2 separate regions of the Homo sapiens genome follow, and region 2 is linked to region 1. The links are contacts of gene promoters, found by promoter capture Hi-C in blood cells and fetal thymus (Javierre and others, 2016). All regions are on one chromosome and are shown on one strand. The core of a region is centred on a gene start or on the middle of the fragment in contact, and the rest is flanking DNA. Distances in the headings are between cores, read along the strand shown.

Region 1 (7,701 bases), core at 1,397-3,896:
GCGGTGGCTCATGCCTGTAATCCCAGCACTTTGGGAGGTCGAGGCGGGCGGATCACCTGAGGTCAGGAGTTCAAAACCAGTCTGGCCAACATGGCAAAACCCCGTCTCTGTTAAAAGTATAAAAATCGGCCGGGCGCGGTGGCAAGCGCCTATAATCCCAGCTACTGGGGAGGCTGAGGAAGGAGAATCACTTGAACTCGGGAGGCGGAGGGTTGTAGTGAGCCGAGATGCTGCCACTGCACTCCAGCCTGGGCAACAGAGTGAGACTCCATCTCAGAAAAGAAAAGAAGAAAAATCTAAATTATTTCAGCGAATAAAAATTACCCGTAAAATTTAACAAGCACTGATACTTCATTGAGCTCAGCTCTGACTTCAGGTTGTAACTCTTGGGACTGTCCAAAGTATTCACAGAAGCAAGACTTAACTAAAGTCTAAAGTGTACTGTTGTGCTGTCTTGCTTTAATCAAGGCTTTCCCCTTCCTTGGCTGCTGAACAAGAATTACAAATTAATTTCCAGGGCAGGGTAAAACCAACACCCCAATACTTGAAAGTATTATCTGTAAAACTTAGAAATAAAAATAAAACCAAAAGACAAGATTCTGCAGTCACAAGTACTTTAATTTTTAAAAACAAATCACTTATTAAAAAATAAACAAATGGCCATGCTACTCTAAAGTTGATACAAGTAAAATAAATTAAGAGGTAGTGTCTCATGAGACAATGTGCTGAAAGTCAGTGCCCAACTAGACAATCTGAGCTACTACATACACTTGGCTTATCTGTAAAGTTAGATTTAAGACACTACTCTCAAAAGTAACATTTCACTGTCACAGCTATTTCACTTTAAAAGGTTAAACAACCCAAAGAGTTTAAACAGTTTTATTTCCAAAAACAACATTACAGAGCATAATTTCTACATTAAAAATTCTTACAGTACCAAGAGAAGTATTACAGTACAATTTTCCACAACAAAATTGTAGCACACAAATCCACGCGACTCCTGGACTTCCTTGAACTGTCAATACACTGCACCCTGTTTAAATGGCTGTACCTGAAAACCAAGGTATGCAATTCCTTAGGATTAGAAGTCATCAAGTTATACTGTCAAGGATCTGGGGGAAATGAGAGGAAGATTCTATTATCCTGGTGTCCGAACCCAACTTCCACAACAAGGTAAAGCCACAGCGATGGTAAAATGTCTATTAGTTGTCAACATTTACGTGCTGAAACCCACCCAATTTAGACATCTCAATATTAAGATTTCTGTGAATCAAGTCACTTAGTTTTAGTTCGGTTTTGAATAAGAAAGGATCCTCCTTCGAAATTTAGATCTATAAAAGTTACTTAAATTGGGTCTTTTCTCCCCCTATGTTGAGATACCAGAGAGCAGGAGAACTTAAATTTATTTTACAAATAGGTAAGGTTACAGGCTTCAGAAGAGAGAGGTACTCCAAACAAATCTGCAAGATATTCGCAAGGATCACAGAAAAAGTCAGGGATAGTGGTTTATTATCCTCCGACCAACTAGCTCTGGAGAGGGATGGATACAAACGTCCCAGAAAGAGGACACTGAAAGTAAGTCTTATCTTCTAGAAAAGTAAGTCGTCCGGGCAAACACGCTGCACCCTCGACATTTCCTTGCAGAGGGGGAGAAAAGCCTCATAGAGCAGCAGGCGACATGACATGCCCGTCTGAGGCTCCACGTGGGGGCTGCACTGAGCCCAACAAGCTTCCCAGACCATGGGGCAATCAAATTCCCCGACTGTGCACAGAACCTGCGCTCCCGGCCCGGGCAGCGGCGCGCAGGCCGCAGTGGCCCTGGAGCGCCACCCAGCGGCCCACGGAGAGGCCTGTAGGCGGGTCCTCCACGGCTCCCGACTCGCCGCACCCCCACAGCCACCCAGCCCGTTCCCCTCTCCGGATGCACAAGGCCCAACCCAAGAACTAAGACACAAAATGGCTGCCGGCAGCTTCGTCACGTGACCCCTTTGTGCCTTTCGGGCCCCCGAACTCCGCGGGACCCGGGTACAAGTGGCCAGGGTCAGCGGGTGGCCTTAGAAGGGGCCCCGCTGGGCCGCGGCGGCCGGGGGTCGAGGCTGGGGGAGGCGGGGTATAGGCCCGGCCGGCGACTGAGAGTCGGCGGCGAAGAGAAGATGGCGGCCATTTTGTGTGGGTTTGCTGCTCCGCCGCCGCCGCAGGCAGCAGAGGGAGCGGGCCTGACGGTGGGTCGGACAGGGGAGTTAACACGTACCGACTCCTCTTCCTTCTCCATTCCGGTGGGCATCTGCGGCACGGCCCTGTTTATCGAGGCGTATTCGTGCAGGTCGGGCAGATCCTCACAGCGGAAAACCGGCAGCGGCTTCGAGGCGTCTAGCGCCCGCGCCCGAAACGACAGTTTACTCATCTCAGGCGCAGCAGATACCTCTCCGCTCTGGGGAAACGGCCCCGGCCAGCGGGATCATGGAGAACCGGGGGTTCGGTCCCCACTCGCCAACCGCTGCCGGGGACTTGAGGGGCGGAGCGCAGAGCCCGCCGTCCGGGCACTAACACCAGCCGGGAGGGTGGGAGGCTGTGCCGCTCCGCTCCTCTCTCGCTCGCTCTCTTCAATACGCCATGGCCAACATGGCGGACATTAAAACTCCACTGTGCGCTCTTCAGCCAACCCCAGCCATTCCCCACACTGCATCGCGCAGCGGCGCGGGCACGCGGGCGGGGGGAGGGAGCGCGGGCTCGAGGCCGGCGCCGGCACGAAGCGCGCGTCCCGCCAACCCCCGGCACCCGCCGGCCTCGCTTCCCGCGCCTCGCTGCTCCGGGCCCCCGCCCTTCGCGGGTCCGGGGGCGGACAGGGCGGACTGGGCGCTCGGACACCGGGCGCCGGCTCTTGGGTCGTGCTCTCCTGCAGCGCACACGCTCACTTTCTCACGCTCGCTCCCTCCCGGCGCCGCTTTCTGACGGGCGAACAAGGTGCGGGAAAACTCTCTCCACCAGCACGCCGCCGTTTGGAAAGGCAGCTGGGGAGAGTGGCAGGCGGGGCTCGGGCCCCGGGCACCTGGGGCTCGGAGGGCTCGGACCTCTGGGGTGCTCGCCAGCGGCTGCCCCGGGGCCACGGCCGCCCCCACGGGGCTTCGGAGGGGCGCTCCAGAGGCGCCGCGCGCCGCCGTCTGCCGCGGGGGGCGAACGCACAGCCTAGTTCCCGCGGCGCCTTAGGTCTTTACGATAAAAATACAAACTGAATTAGGGGCAGATGCTACTTTGAGTAAACTTTTATCAGCAGTTATTTTTATGTCCTAATGCAACTTTGGATTATAATGTTTTATAGGCACCGCATCAAGTCATTGATCCGTTTCCCACGCATTGGGCTTAATATAAATGATAGGTATCCTATTCTACAAAGTAGATTTTTTTAAATCCTGCATTTTCATCTACACATATTTACTTTTTAAATAGTAACTGAAGCAAAGGAAATTATTACCCACCACTATAACATTTAAAAGCAAGATCTACTTCAGAATTTAAAGCCAGTTCTTTATATCTAGCTCATGATTCTGTACTCAAAGAGACTGCGGCTTCATCATAGCCGTGGGTTCACACTTTCATCATTTGTCCTCTGAAAAACTTTGTAACATTGAATCATATAAAGACCTGTCGTACTCCCGCCAAACAAAAAGCTGAATTATTAGATTTAGATGGATATGATAGATGGGTGGCATCGGTTTATATTACACATGAAAATGGGTATCCTGAGATCTCTTCGTTGTTGTTGTTGTTAATAGGGAAGATTGTTGGGGTGGGTTTAATAAATTGGCAGCCAAATTTCAATTCGAGTTTCAATTTGTATCTTAGTGCACAATTTTGTATCTTGTGCAACAAGATACAAAAAGATACAAAAATGTTTTGAGTTGCTTTTCTCCCTGGGAACTACGTAGTAAAAGTAATCACGCTCCTTAAATACTGGGCTTGATATGAGCTGTCACTAGCTTAGGGCACACAGGCAAACTGCTAGCCTCCAGGCTGGTTTAGCCAGCTCCCGCGGGGTAGGGAGAAAACAGGACGGATTGCAGTTCTCCAAAATTATACTTAAACTCCGATATTGGCAGCTCACTTAAGTGAGGCATAAGGACGTTCACCTGCATTTCCTACACAGAGACCGTGCCTTTATTCATTCAATGAGTATTGAGGGTGTGTATTGAGCCCTCATAGCCTTCCAAGTCAGCTTGGCACCCACAGGGCTCCTGGAGGAGCTTACACAGTGGGGAGAAGGACCCGCGAATGGCAACTGCCACACGGCGAGCTAAGTGTTATGGTGGAAGCCCAGGCCACTGTGGGAAGGGGCAAGAGTGGCGCCCAACCCAGGAGAGTAGTTCTAATGAAGTAGCAAGGGAAGACTTTTTGGAAGAGATGATATCTGAGTAAAATTATGTAGGATAAGTGTGGGTTAACTTTGCAAAAAAAGTAAAAATGAAGGGAAGAAAGGTATCTTAAGACAACGGTAGCGACGTATCCACAAGCTGAGTCATTAGATAGCAGTCACTTTCTGGGAGCCTCAAGAATTGCCAACTTCACTGTGGAATGACACCTGTTTAGCCAGGTTTAACAGTTCCGAAAATACTGGCTGAATATTATTCTGACAGCCCTCTCCAGCCTACAACATTAGGTTCCTGAAAGTCCTAGCAGTAGAATTCATAATTGAGGAGCCTAAGATTTTAAGAACAAAATAGAGTAAGTCAAGAGTGAACCAAGGAAATGAATTATTTCTACCCTCATTAAAATAACAGTAAACAACAAAATAACTATTTCCACATCCTACATTAGTAATAATGGGTGGAGTACAAAAAAATTTCTTATTCTCTAGAGAGTCTAAAATCACCCTCCGTGGCAAATTCACAGATAAGCTTACAGATTCACTTGCCTTTTGGCAGATAATATTATATGCCTGCTAAGAGACACCTTTTTCTCATCATTCCTTTATCCGTCTCCTCAATGCTGTGGATTTCCAACTCTCAGGTCCTTCTGGGTTCCCAAGGACTCAAAGGCTGGAGTCCCAAGCCTCTTTTATAAAATTAAAACAAACAAACAAACAAAAAAACCCTTTTTTGAAATTTTTGTTTTTTAGAGACAGTGTCTCTATCTCCCAGGCCTGAGTTCAGTGTTGTGATCATGGCTTACTGCAGGCTTGAACTCCTGGGCTCAAGTGATCCTCCTGCCTCAGCCATCAGTAGCTGGGACTAAAGGTACATGCCACCATACCCTGCTAATTTCTAAATTTTTTCTAAAGACAGGGCCTCCCTCTGTTGCCCAGGCTGCTCCTGAGCTCCTGACCTCAAGCAGTCCTCCCACCTCGGCCTCCCAAAGTGCTGGGATTACAGGTGTGAGCCACTGCGTTCGGACCCATGCCTCTTTTTTATGCAGTTCACTTTTCTTCACCTTAAGGGACAGGAAGGCAGCAGTAAAGATTCAGGTTTAGTTTTCCCTAGATTCTTTTATCTGTCCGAAAGATTCCTTGAAAAAATGGTTAATCCTGTACTTTCACTTTAAAAATTCTTTTCTGTTCTCAACTTAAAATTCCTTCTTTTTCTAAGTATCCCCAACAAAAGTGATGTGAAATTCTCGATGTTGCAAACAATGTATGCTAGGGCAAAGGTGAATACCCTAACGGCAGAGGGAAACTCTTGTTTGGGAAAGGATTTGGAGTATTTAAGATAGTTTGATGTCACAAATATGTATTGGATAACCAGGTAACACACAGTACTGTCATTGTAGGGGATACAAATAAAACACTGGTAAATGGATACCCAGTTGCCCAAGTGGCAAGGCAGTATAATGAAATGCAGTGGCTATGGGAGTTCAGAAAAGAGAGCAGTAGGTCCCATCTGGGTTGATCAGACAGCATGGAGAAGCAGCATGCGATCTGATTCTGAAGGATGGCTAAGGTTTCAACTGCTCATGGGAATGAAATGCTATTATAGAAGAAAGAACATTCATGGGGGAACGCAACTGTATGAACAAAAGGGTGAGAGGCGGCAACTGTCAGGTATGATTGAGGATGAGGAGGTTTATTTGGCCGGAGTTCAGTAGGAGACTCCAACAACAAGCCAATTAGGAGATAAAACTGGTAAGAACTTGGGTGGATGGAGTAGGAGTAGAAAGTAAAGAGACATGAGTTTTCATGGTAATAATCATTACATATAATAGCACAAGAAATGTGATTTCTGTTCCAAATACAGAATTTCTACTTAACAAAAACTTAGAATATGCCAAAGGCAACTGCTCTGACACTGCATTCTGTGGTAACTAATACATTTGAAATACAGCTCTAAATAGTAGTTTATGTTCGGTATGTATCCAAGTCTTATGATTTCTTCTTTGAAATTGTTTCTGGGATTTACTTCCCAATTTCCATTTCCATTGTCTTAAACATAGTCCCAACTCTGATCACTTCACCCCTAGAAACAGCCTCCCATTCATCCTTTATTTATTCAGTCCATCCTTTATTTACTCATTCCCTCAATAAACCTTTTTAAAGCCCTCACTTTATAGGAAACTGTGCTGGTACTCTTCTGTTGGTGGCTAGTGGTAACCAAAAGTGGAAGCAGAGGCTCTGGGTCCCTGGGGCCTCACAATGCATGTCACCAAGTCAGTGTGCCAAAAACTGTACTTCATTCTGTATCTTCCCTTCCCCAAGTCATATCTTTATAACTGCTCTTGTTTTGCCCATTAGATAAAGCCAAATTTTCGAGTGTTTGGTTGTCAAGACCTCCTGTAATTTTGCCCCACTCTGTCCAACATCGTTTGTCATTATTGCTTAAGACAAGCTTTTCACTCTAGCTAGCAGTCTCATCACCATCTTCAGAAATCAGCATGTCGGCTGGGTGCGGTGGCTCATGCCTGTAATCCCAGTACTTTGGGAGGCCGAGGAGAGTGGATCACCTGAGGTCAGGAGTTCACGACCAGCCTGGCCAACATGATGAAACCCTATCTCTACTAAAAATACAAAAAATTAGCCAGGCATGGTGGTGCACGCCTGTAATCCCAGCTACTCAGGAGGCTGAGGCAGGAGAATCGCTTTAACCCGGGAGGTGGAGGTTGCAGTGAGCCGAGATTGCACCATTGCACTCCGGGCTGGGCAATAAGAGCGAAACTCCATCTTAAAAAAAGAAAAAAAATCAGCGTGTCTTTCCTGCCTCCAGGTTTTTATTCATTCTTTTGATTATTTATTTATTTATTTATTTTATTTTGAGAGATGGAGTCTTGCTCTGTTGCCCAGGCTGGAGTGCAGTGGCGTGATCTCGGCTCACTGCAACCTCCACCTCCCGGGTTCAAGTGATTCTCCTACCTCAGCTTCACAAGTAGCTGGGATTACAAGTGTGCGCCATCACGCCCGGCTAATTTTTGTATTTTTTTTAGTAAGGACAGGGTTTCACCATATGTTGGCCAGGCTGGTCTCAAACTCCTGATCTCAGGTGATCCACCCACCTCGTCCTCCCAAAGTGCTGGGATGACAGGCATGAACCATCGTGCCCAGCCATATTGATTTTTTTTTTTTTTTTTTTTGAAACAGAGTCTCGCTCTGTCGCCCAGGCTGGAGTGCAGTGGCGCAATCTCGGCTCACTGCAACCTCCGCCTCCCAGGTTCACGCCATTCTTCTGCCTCAGCCTCCTGAGTAGCTGGGACTACAGGCACCTGCCACCACGCCCGGCTAAT
Region 2 (7,701 bases), core at 2,826-5,325, 310 kb before region 1:
TCGATATTTGACTTACATAGAAAAGTAAGTTATTTAAGTAGTTTTTAGGTTAAGAATACTTGTACTAAAGCATTAAAAAAGAAAATAAAACTATATCCTACCGATTTCTGATTCAATTCATCACTAAGCAATTCATATTCCTTAGTTTTGTCTTCAACTTCCTGAGACTTCTGATCATAATTGACAGCAAGTTCTTCTAGGGCCTGTAAAACTTCTTTCACTTCTTCTTTAGAGGCATCATTTTCTGCTTGAAGGCGATTCAGCTCAGCTTGCATATTGTCTTGATCCCTTCTGGTAGATGCCAAAAGCTATAGGACAGAAAATAATTTATTTTCCCCAAAAGTATACAGGTTTTAAAAAACACCCATGAAGCTTCACCATTTGTCAAGAACAAATGGAGTGAAATATGGATGGTATTCAGTGTGGCAACATTTATTCATTAAACAGATTTACTAAATGTCAACTATGTGCAGGCACTGTGCTGGATGCTGCAAGGCAGAAAGAAAATCAAAGACTGTGTTTAAGGAACACAGTAGAAGAGAAGATAGGCACATGAATAAGTGCAGTACAAGATAGAAGGTCAGAACCATAAGAGAGGGACAGGACAGATAAAGTGCTTAGTAATACAGGAAAGAGTATTCATTCATGGAGAAGTTGGCTAGGAGAGATCGACTGCAGTCACATGCAAATTAATGTAATAAAGGAAAATGGCATTCTACAAGAGTTGCTTAAAAATTTAGATTTGGGCCAGGCGGGGTGGCTCACGCCTGTAATCCCAGCATTTTGGGAGGCCGAGGCGGGCGGATCACAAGGTCAGGAGTTTGAGACCAGCCTGACCAACATGGTGAAATCCCGTCTCTACTAAAAATACCAAAAAATTAGCCAGGCGTGGTGGCGGGCGCCTGTAATCCCAGCTACTCGGGAGGCTGAGGCAGAAGAGTCGCTTGAACCTGGGAGGTGGAGGTTGCAGTGAGCCAAGATCACGCCGCTGCACTCCAGCCTGGGGAACAAGAGCAAGACTTCGCCTCAAAAACAAAAACAAAACCTGGTATCAGCACATAAAATCTGAACTGCAGGGATGCCAAGAGACTAGTTAGGAGAAAACCACAATCATCCACATTAGTGGCTCTCCTGTAGGGATATCCGGAAATCTGTGGGAGTGTTAATAATAGGGTAGAATGCTAATGGCATTTAGGAGTAGGGACCAGGAATGTTTAATGTCCTATAATACAAAGGACAGAATAACATAAATTATCCAATGCAAAATATCAATAGTGCCCCTTTGAGGAATAATGCTATAGTTGAAATATGAAATGCTATAGTTGAAAGATGATCTGACCAGGATTAAGTTCACTGATGGAGAGTATCTCTTTCTTACCGAAGCAGTCTTTGTCTTCACCCTGCCCACCACCCCCACAAAAAAATTTAAAGGACTGCTTTTCAATTATCCCCCTGCTCTGCTGGGTGAGAAGATAAAATGAGGATCCAAAGTAAGTGACAAGAAGAGAAATGTCAAGAACCAGGGTGAAAAAAAAGATGGCGGAAATGAACAACAGATTGTATCTGGGTAGATACGATGAATAAGTAAAAATTCACTTTATCCATGTGACATTCTTATTCCCACAAAGACAGTCATACCCAAAATTATACAACTATTAAAGACAAAGTCAATGGGATTCAGAAAACAAAACTATAAAGCTTTTCTGGAAGCAATGTAAAAGGTATTCAACTCACCTCCTCCTGATCCAACATTTGCGTCTTCAGTTTCTCTACCAGTTGACTTTGCTGGTTAATTTCTTCATCCTAGAATTGTGAAGTATCCGGTTAACCAGTAGCTAACAACCTGGTTCTAGTTGTTTCCCAATACAGGTTATAAGATTACTACTCCCCAGAAATATTTCAAAACCATTTCTCTAAATTCAACATTGCTTATTTTAATCTCTTTTAAGAAAATGGCAAAACAAAAGGAATTTCTTTCAATTATCAATACTTATAATGGTCATGTACTTCGAACCTGCCATCTCTGCTTAAAATATATTAAAAATATCAACTTAAGAAAATATTTTCTTCTAATCTCTTTACTACTCTTGTTCTTGCCTTCCATTCTATTACGTTCTTAGTTTGCTATTATTCATACTATTGACATTACTTCTATATGCAAAGCAGGAAGATATTATTTCCACTCTATTGTGTTTCCCTTAATCTCTCACATCATCTTTTATTGGAGTCTTCAGAGCCCTGATTCTAACAATTGGTATCATTGAGGCTCCCAATGACCCAATGCCAAATTTTCATTAGAACAGGGGTCCCCAAGCCCCCAGGCCACAAAGCAGTACTGGAAGCCTGTTAGGAACCAAGAAGCACAGCAGGAGGTGAGCAGCAAGCATTACCACTTGAGCTCCGCCTTCTGCCAGATCAGCAGCATTAGAATATCATTAAGAGCGCGAACTCTATTATCAGCTGTGCATGCAAGAGATCTAGGTTAGAGGATCCTTATGAGAATCTAATGCCTGATAATCCAAGGTGGAAGTTTCATCCCAAAACCATCTCCCCGACCTGATCCACGGAAAAACTGTCTTCCCTGAAACCAGTCCCTGGTGCCAAAAAGGTTGGGGACTGCTGCCTTATAAAGTTCTTTTAGCTTAAAAAGAGGGGGAAGAAAAGATACATGCTCATACAGTTTCCACACAGAAATTGAAATTATGACTTTTTATTTTGTTAATACAATAATTTTTACAAGATTAACAGAAATCAAGGAAGATGCATAAAGATCCTAAGTGCCCACAGCACTGAAATGAGAAAAGTTAGAAAATAAAAACACCCATGTCAATAGTATCCTAATATAAAGCAGACCTAAATCAAGCAATACCTACCTTGTCATCAAGCTGTTTGTATAATTTAGCAATTTCTTCTTCACACTTTCTTCTTTCAGCATCAGTAAAATTTCCTATAACTCCAATTGCGGTTGCTGGTTTATCATTGGTAAGAGTAATATCTTTATCCACTGTGAAAGCTTCCAAGTTGGCTTTCTCTTTGTCAAACTGTTCATCAATAGGCACCGTCTCCCCTAAAATAAGAAAATAAAGTGGTTAATAAAAAAACGACGTCTAAAGCTAATTTCAATTTCATTCCTTTAAAAATTTTTTTTTTTTTTTTTGAGACAGAGTCTCAATCTGTCACCCTGGCTGGAGTGCAGTGGTGCAATCTAGGCTCACTGCAACCTCTGCCTCCAGGGTTCAAGCAATTCTACTGCCTCAAGACTCCTGATTAGCTGGGATTACAGGCGCTCAGCACCATGCCAGGCTAATTTTGGTGTTTTCAGTAGAGATGGGGTTTCAACATGTTGGCCAGGCTGGTCTCTAACTCCTGACCTCAAGTGATCTGCCCACCTTGGCCTCCCAAAGTGCTAGGATTACAGGCATGAGCCAGTGCACCCAGCCTCGTTCTTTCAAACTTTTTCTTCTCTGTGTTATTTTCAAATAATCTGTCTTCAAGTTCAGATTCTTCTGCTTAATTAATTCTACTACTGATGGTCTCTTGCATTTTGCTCATTTTATTTTTCAGCTCCAGGATTTCTATTAATTTTTTTAAAAATTATTTCGATGTCTATTAAATTTCTTGATCTAGTCACTTACTGATTTTGCTGAACTATTTCTACGTTTCTATGCTCTAAATCTGTATTTAACAAACTGAAGATGACAAATTCTTAAGTTATTACCATTACGCCATCTGTTGAGCTCATTTTCAAGCCACTGAATAGTGTTCCGCAGGATCTTATTTTTTTCTTTTTCTTTTTCATACTTCTTTTTCCACTGTTCTGCAGTTAACTCCACATTGACACAAACTGTGTTCTTAATTGTTTTGGCCCTAAGAGATGTAATTGGAGGAAAAAAAGGATGAGACTGAAATTATTTTTAATTTTATCTATATGGAATATATGTATATATGGCTAAGAAACTTATGCTTGTCCAGTAATCTCTTAGACTAAATACTAAAAGCCGCAACATATGACGTTATTTACAACTCAACTAAATTTGAGTCTGCTCCAAAATCTGTGAATAGCTTTAAAAAAAAAAAAATCAACAAACCACTAAAAATAAAAGACAAAGGCCTATATTTTTCCAATTTGTTTGCAAGGCTGAATTAAGAAATTACTGTTGAAAGTCAAAGACGGAATCATCATTACTGATTTTCCTAATCATCTCATACAGATTATATTAACCTGTCATGCATGTCTACAGGCTTAACAGAGGATTATGTTTGCCAGGCTTTGACCTCATTATTTGATTCAAATGCTTATTTTCTTTAATACCAAATTACAGCTTGTCACACAAATTTGACTAAAATTACATCTGACTTTAATGTGTACTAAAACTTAAACCAAGCAGTCTAAAAATCAGACCCACCTTGTATTATCTGTCATCAATTCAAACTGAGTGTGTCTAGCACAAAACAGTATGTACAGGTTGGAATAACAGCTCACATTTTCCTACATTTTATAAACAAAAGGTCTATCTAAATTTAGGTTTTGTACTTTCTTAACAACAAACCTTTGGCCAAATAAGAGTGTAGATTTTGTTTCAGACTCATTGTATGATGATGGAGAGCAGCAAATTACAATAGTGGTTCTACAGTTGCCACCTAATGAATCTTGAAGGATTCTTGTCATTTTACTATCTCGATATGGAACATATGTCTGCATACAAAAACAAAGAAAGAAAACAAGACCAGTATAATAAAATGTTATTATAAAATAAACTCCCAAAAGACAACTAACTTACACATACTGATTCAAACACATTGAATCTCAATCTCTCTTTCTCTCTCTCTCTCTCATACACACCCAGGCACACATATACACCTATATTTAAATAATGCCCCATAAGGTAACAGGGAGATAGAAGACATGTATACTCACACTACCCTCAGCCAAAGCAGAAATAACATTTCCAAGAGCAGAAAGTGACTTGTTGATGTTTTTAGCTTCATCCAGCACAGCACCTTCAGCTCCAGTTTTACTAACCTATACATAAGATTTCAAAAGAATGAAACAAAATTACAAGTTTATAATTTTCTTTACATTTTCTAAAATGTTCATATGTCATCAATAACCAGTAAAAAAGAAAAAAGAACATGAAAAGCTTCATGATCTTATTTGCCAAGCATACCACCATTTCTTGAGTACTACTCTTAAGAGTTTGATTAGAGAGACATCAAATTTTATCTGTAGTTTGTAGGTACTCTTGAAAATAACCAATTTAAATGTAAATTTGTAGTTCATTAATCTGTTAGTCCCCTTTGCTACATTAGAAAACAGGAACCTTCTAAAATTGGCTAATGCATAATGTTGATGTTGTAACTGTTAGAAAACAGAGACTGAGTTTTAAACACATTATATAAGCAAATCTGCTTCTTTTAAAAATATATAAAATATCTAAATATCTATGTTGTGGTGTTTTTTTTTTGGAGACTGAGTCTCACTCTGTCACCCAGGCTGGAGTGCAGTGGCTTGATCCCAGCTCACTGCAACCTCCGCTTCCCGGGTTCAACCAATTCTCCTGCCTCAGCCTCCCCAGTAGCTGGTATTACGGGCATGTGCCACCATGCCCAGCTAGTATCTATGTTAAAGATAGGTCAGAACAATAAATTAGCAATGTTGGCTGAAGAAATAGCTTAGGAGATTTCTCAGATTAGATAATCTTTGAAAGATGTGTGTAAGACTTCAGAGTAGAACGGAATAGATATATCATTCTAAGCAGAAGAAACAAAATTAGCACAACAGCAAAAATGGTCAGAGGTCCCTATTATAACATTCAAACTTAATTTGATATAGACTAGAATCAGACTGTATAGAATTGTAATAATGAAACAATAATCCAAAGGAAAGAAATAAGTCCAACCAAACCAGAAAAGACTAATCGAGAGTTACCAGTTTTAATAGGGACCCCACTGCCAATATGGATAAAATACGTATCAAAAATTAGAAAAGGGATATCTAATAAAGTTTATAACAACATATGCTGAACCAGTTCTCACTATGAACATATCTTAAGTCATAGAAACCACTTATGGGTTGAACTAGAGTATGGTCAAACAACAGTAACTTGGAACTGATTATTCAGCTGATATCATCATAAGGCACTGGCATCAGCGGTTACAAATCTCAGGTTACCAAATCCAGTTTGGTAAGTAAGATGCAACAATGAACCCTGCGTAACTCCCAACTCAAACTAAAGTTTACAAAGATGCTTAAATATTTGTCAAAATACATGAAGACTTTACCTTTTCACTACCAGCTAAATCAACCAGATAAAGTTTTCCACTCAGCTTTTGTTCCGTTTGTGTGTTCTCTTGTTTGACATTAATAAGAAATATACTGTGACTCCTAGAGCTATGTTCATTCATATCTGCAAGGAAATTACACAAACAAATATAAACAAACATGATTTCCCCTTAACAATTTCCCTGAAGCAATCTTATAATTAATCACCTGGATAAGGATATTTTAAGCTGGTTTTAAATCCTAACCAGTGTTATTTTCTACTTACTTGTAACTGCTACATGTCTGTTGGATTTTCCTTCATCTATGGTATCCATAACTTCATCTGGACTACATACAAAACGCTCTGTGCACCCCTGTGAAATAATTTTTAAAAATATGTTAATGTCTGGCCAACATGATGAAACCCTTTCTCTAATAAAAACACAAAAATTAGCCGGGCGCGGTGGCGGGTGCCTGTAATCCTAGCTACTTGGGAGGCTGAGGCAGGAGAATCGCTTGAGCCTGGGAGGCAAAGGTTGCAGTGAGCCGAGACCATGCCATGCACTCCAGCCTGAGCAACAGAGCGAGCCTCCATATATTAAATGAATTGGCTCACGCCTGTAATCCCAGCACTTTGGGAGGCAGAGGCGGGCGGATCACGAGGTCAGGAGTTCAAGACCAGCCTGGCCAACATGGTGAAACTTCGTCTCTACTAAAAATACAAAAATTAGCTGGGCGTGGTGGCGCATGCCTGTAATCCCAGCTACTCAAGAGGCTGAGGCAGGAGAACTGCTTGAACCCTGGAGGCAGAGGTTGCAGTGAGCCGAGATTGCACCACTGCACTCCAGCCTGGGCGACAGAGTGAGACTCTGTCTTAAAAAAAAAAAAAAAGTATTACAGGGTTTTCTAGACAACTGTACTATAAATACCTTTACATAGGGAACTCGGTTTTTGTCTTCATGAACTGAAAGGTTGGTCTTTGAAACTGAGAAAGAAAAACAAATGTTAGCAACATTCTCCTAAAACTCTTAACACTGGATATGAAATAACTGATAGGCTTTCCTGAGCAGCCTAACAGCAATAGTTGAACTCTAAAAACATATTAAAACATTGCTCTAAAGCAGACCTTACAGACACAGCAGGAGATGTAAATAGAAACCAATGCAACAATATAGAATTTTAGGACCACTCCAACCTACCACCCACATTTTATAAACAAGAACATTAACCCTGAATGGTTCAATGATTTGCCTAAGGACAATGTATCTAATTGACAGTTGACAGAAGACTAGAACTCAGGGCTCAGATTATGTAACTCCCAGTCCAATGCTCTAATTACTACTAAGAAGTACCCATAAACATCGCTTTAAACTAGTTATTCTATTTAAAGGTATTCAACTAAAACTTTAGAAGAAAAAAAATTTTGTCTATTTCCAATA

What was found. The method cuts DNA at HindIII sites, captures the fragments that hold promoters and counts their contacts. A CHiCAGO score of 5 or more calls a contact.
Region 2: a contact is called between a fragment that was not itself captured here and the fragment with the promoter of EPC1 in region 1, in 1 of 17 cell types (erythroblasts). The highest score is 5.9, in erythroblasts.

What each region holds. Positions count from the first base shown.
Region 1 is chr10:32,344,512-32,352,212 of GRCh38, forward strand. It overlaps EPC1 (enhancer of polycomb 1), which reads right to left and starts at 2,647. Exons shown (of 14, transcript NM_001272004.3): 1 at 2,252-2,647. The coding sequence starts at 2,404. It overlaps EPC1-AS1 (EPC1 antisense RNA 1), which reads left to right and starts at 2,853. Exons shown (of 2, transcript NR_104163.1): 1 at 2,853-2,964. RefSeq lists silencers at 1,678-1,957, 2,628-3,097, 3,108-3,237 and enhancers at 2,178-2,277, 2,298-2,357. The HindIII fragment of the contact is 3,163 bases long and covers 1,728-4,890 here.
Region 2 is chr10:32,030,972-32,038,672 of GRCh38, forward strand. It overlaps KIF5B (kinesin family member 5B), which reads right to left. Exons shown (of 26, transcript NM_004521.3): 6 at 7,192-7,247; 7 at 6,549-6,636; 8 at 6,283-6,407; 9 at 4,919-5,023; 10 at 4,551-4,696; 11 at 3,719-3,867; 12 at 2,874-3,067; 13 at 1,735-1,803; 14 at 102-308. Among named protein-coding and RNA genes, the nearest start is that of KIF5B, 22 kb to the right of the region's middle. The HindIII fragment of the contact is 2,128 bases long and covers 3,012-5,139 here.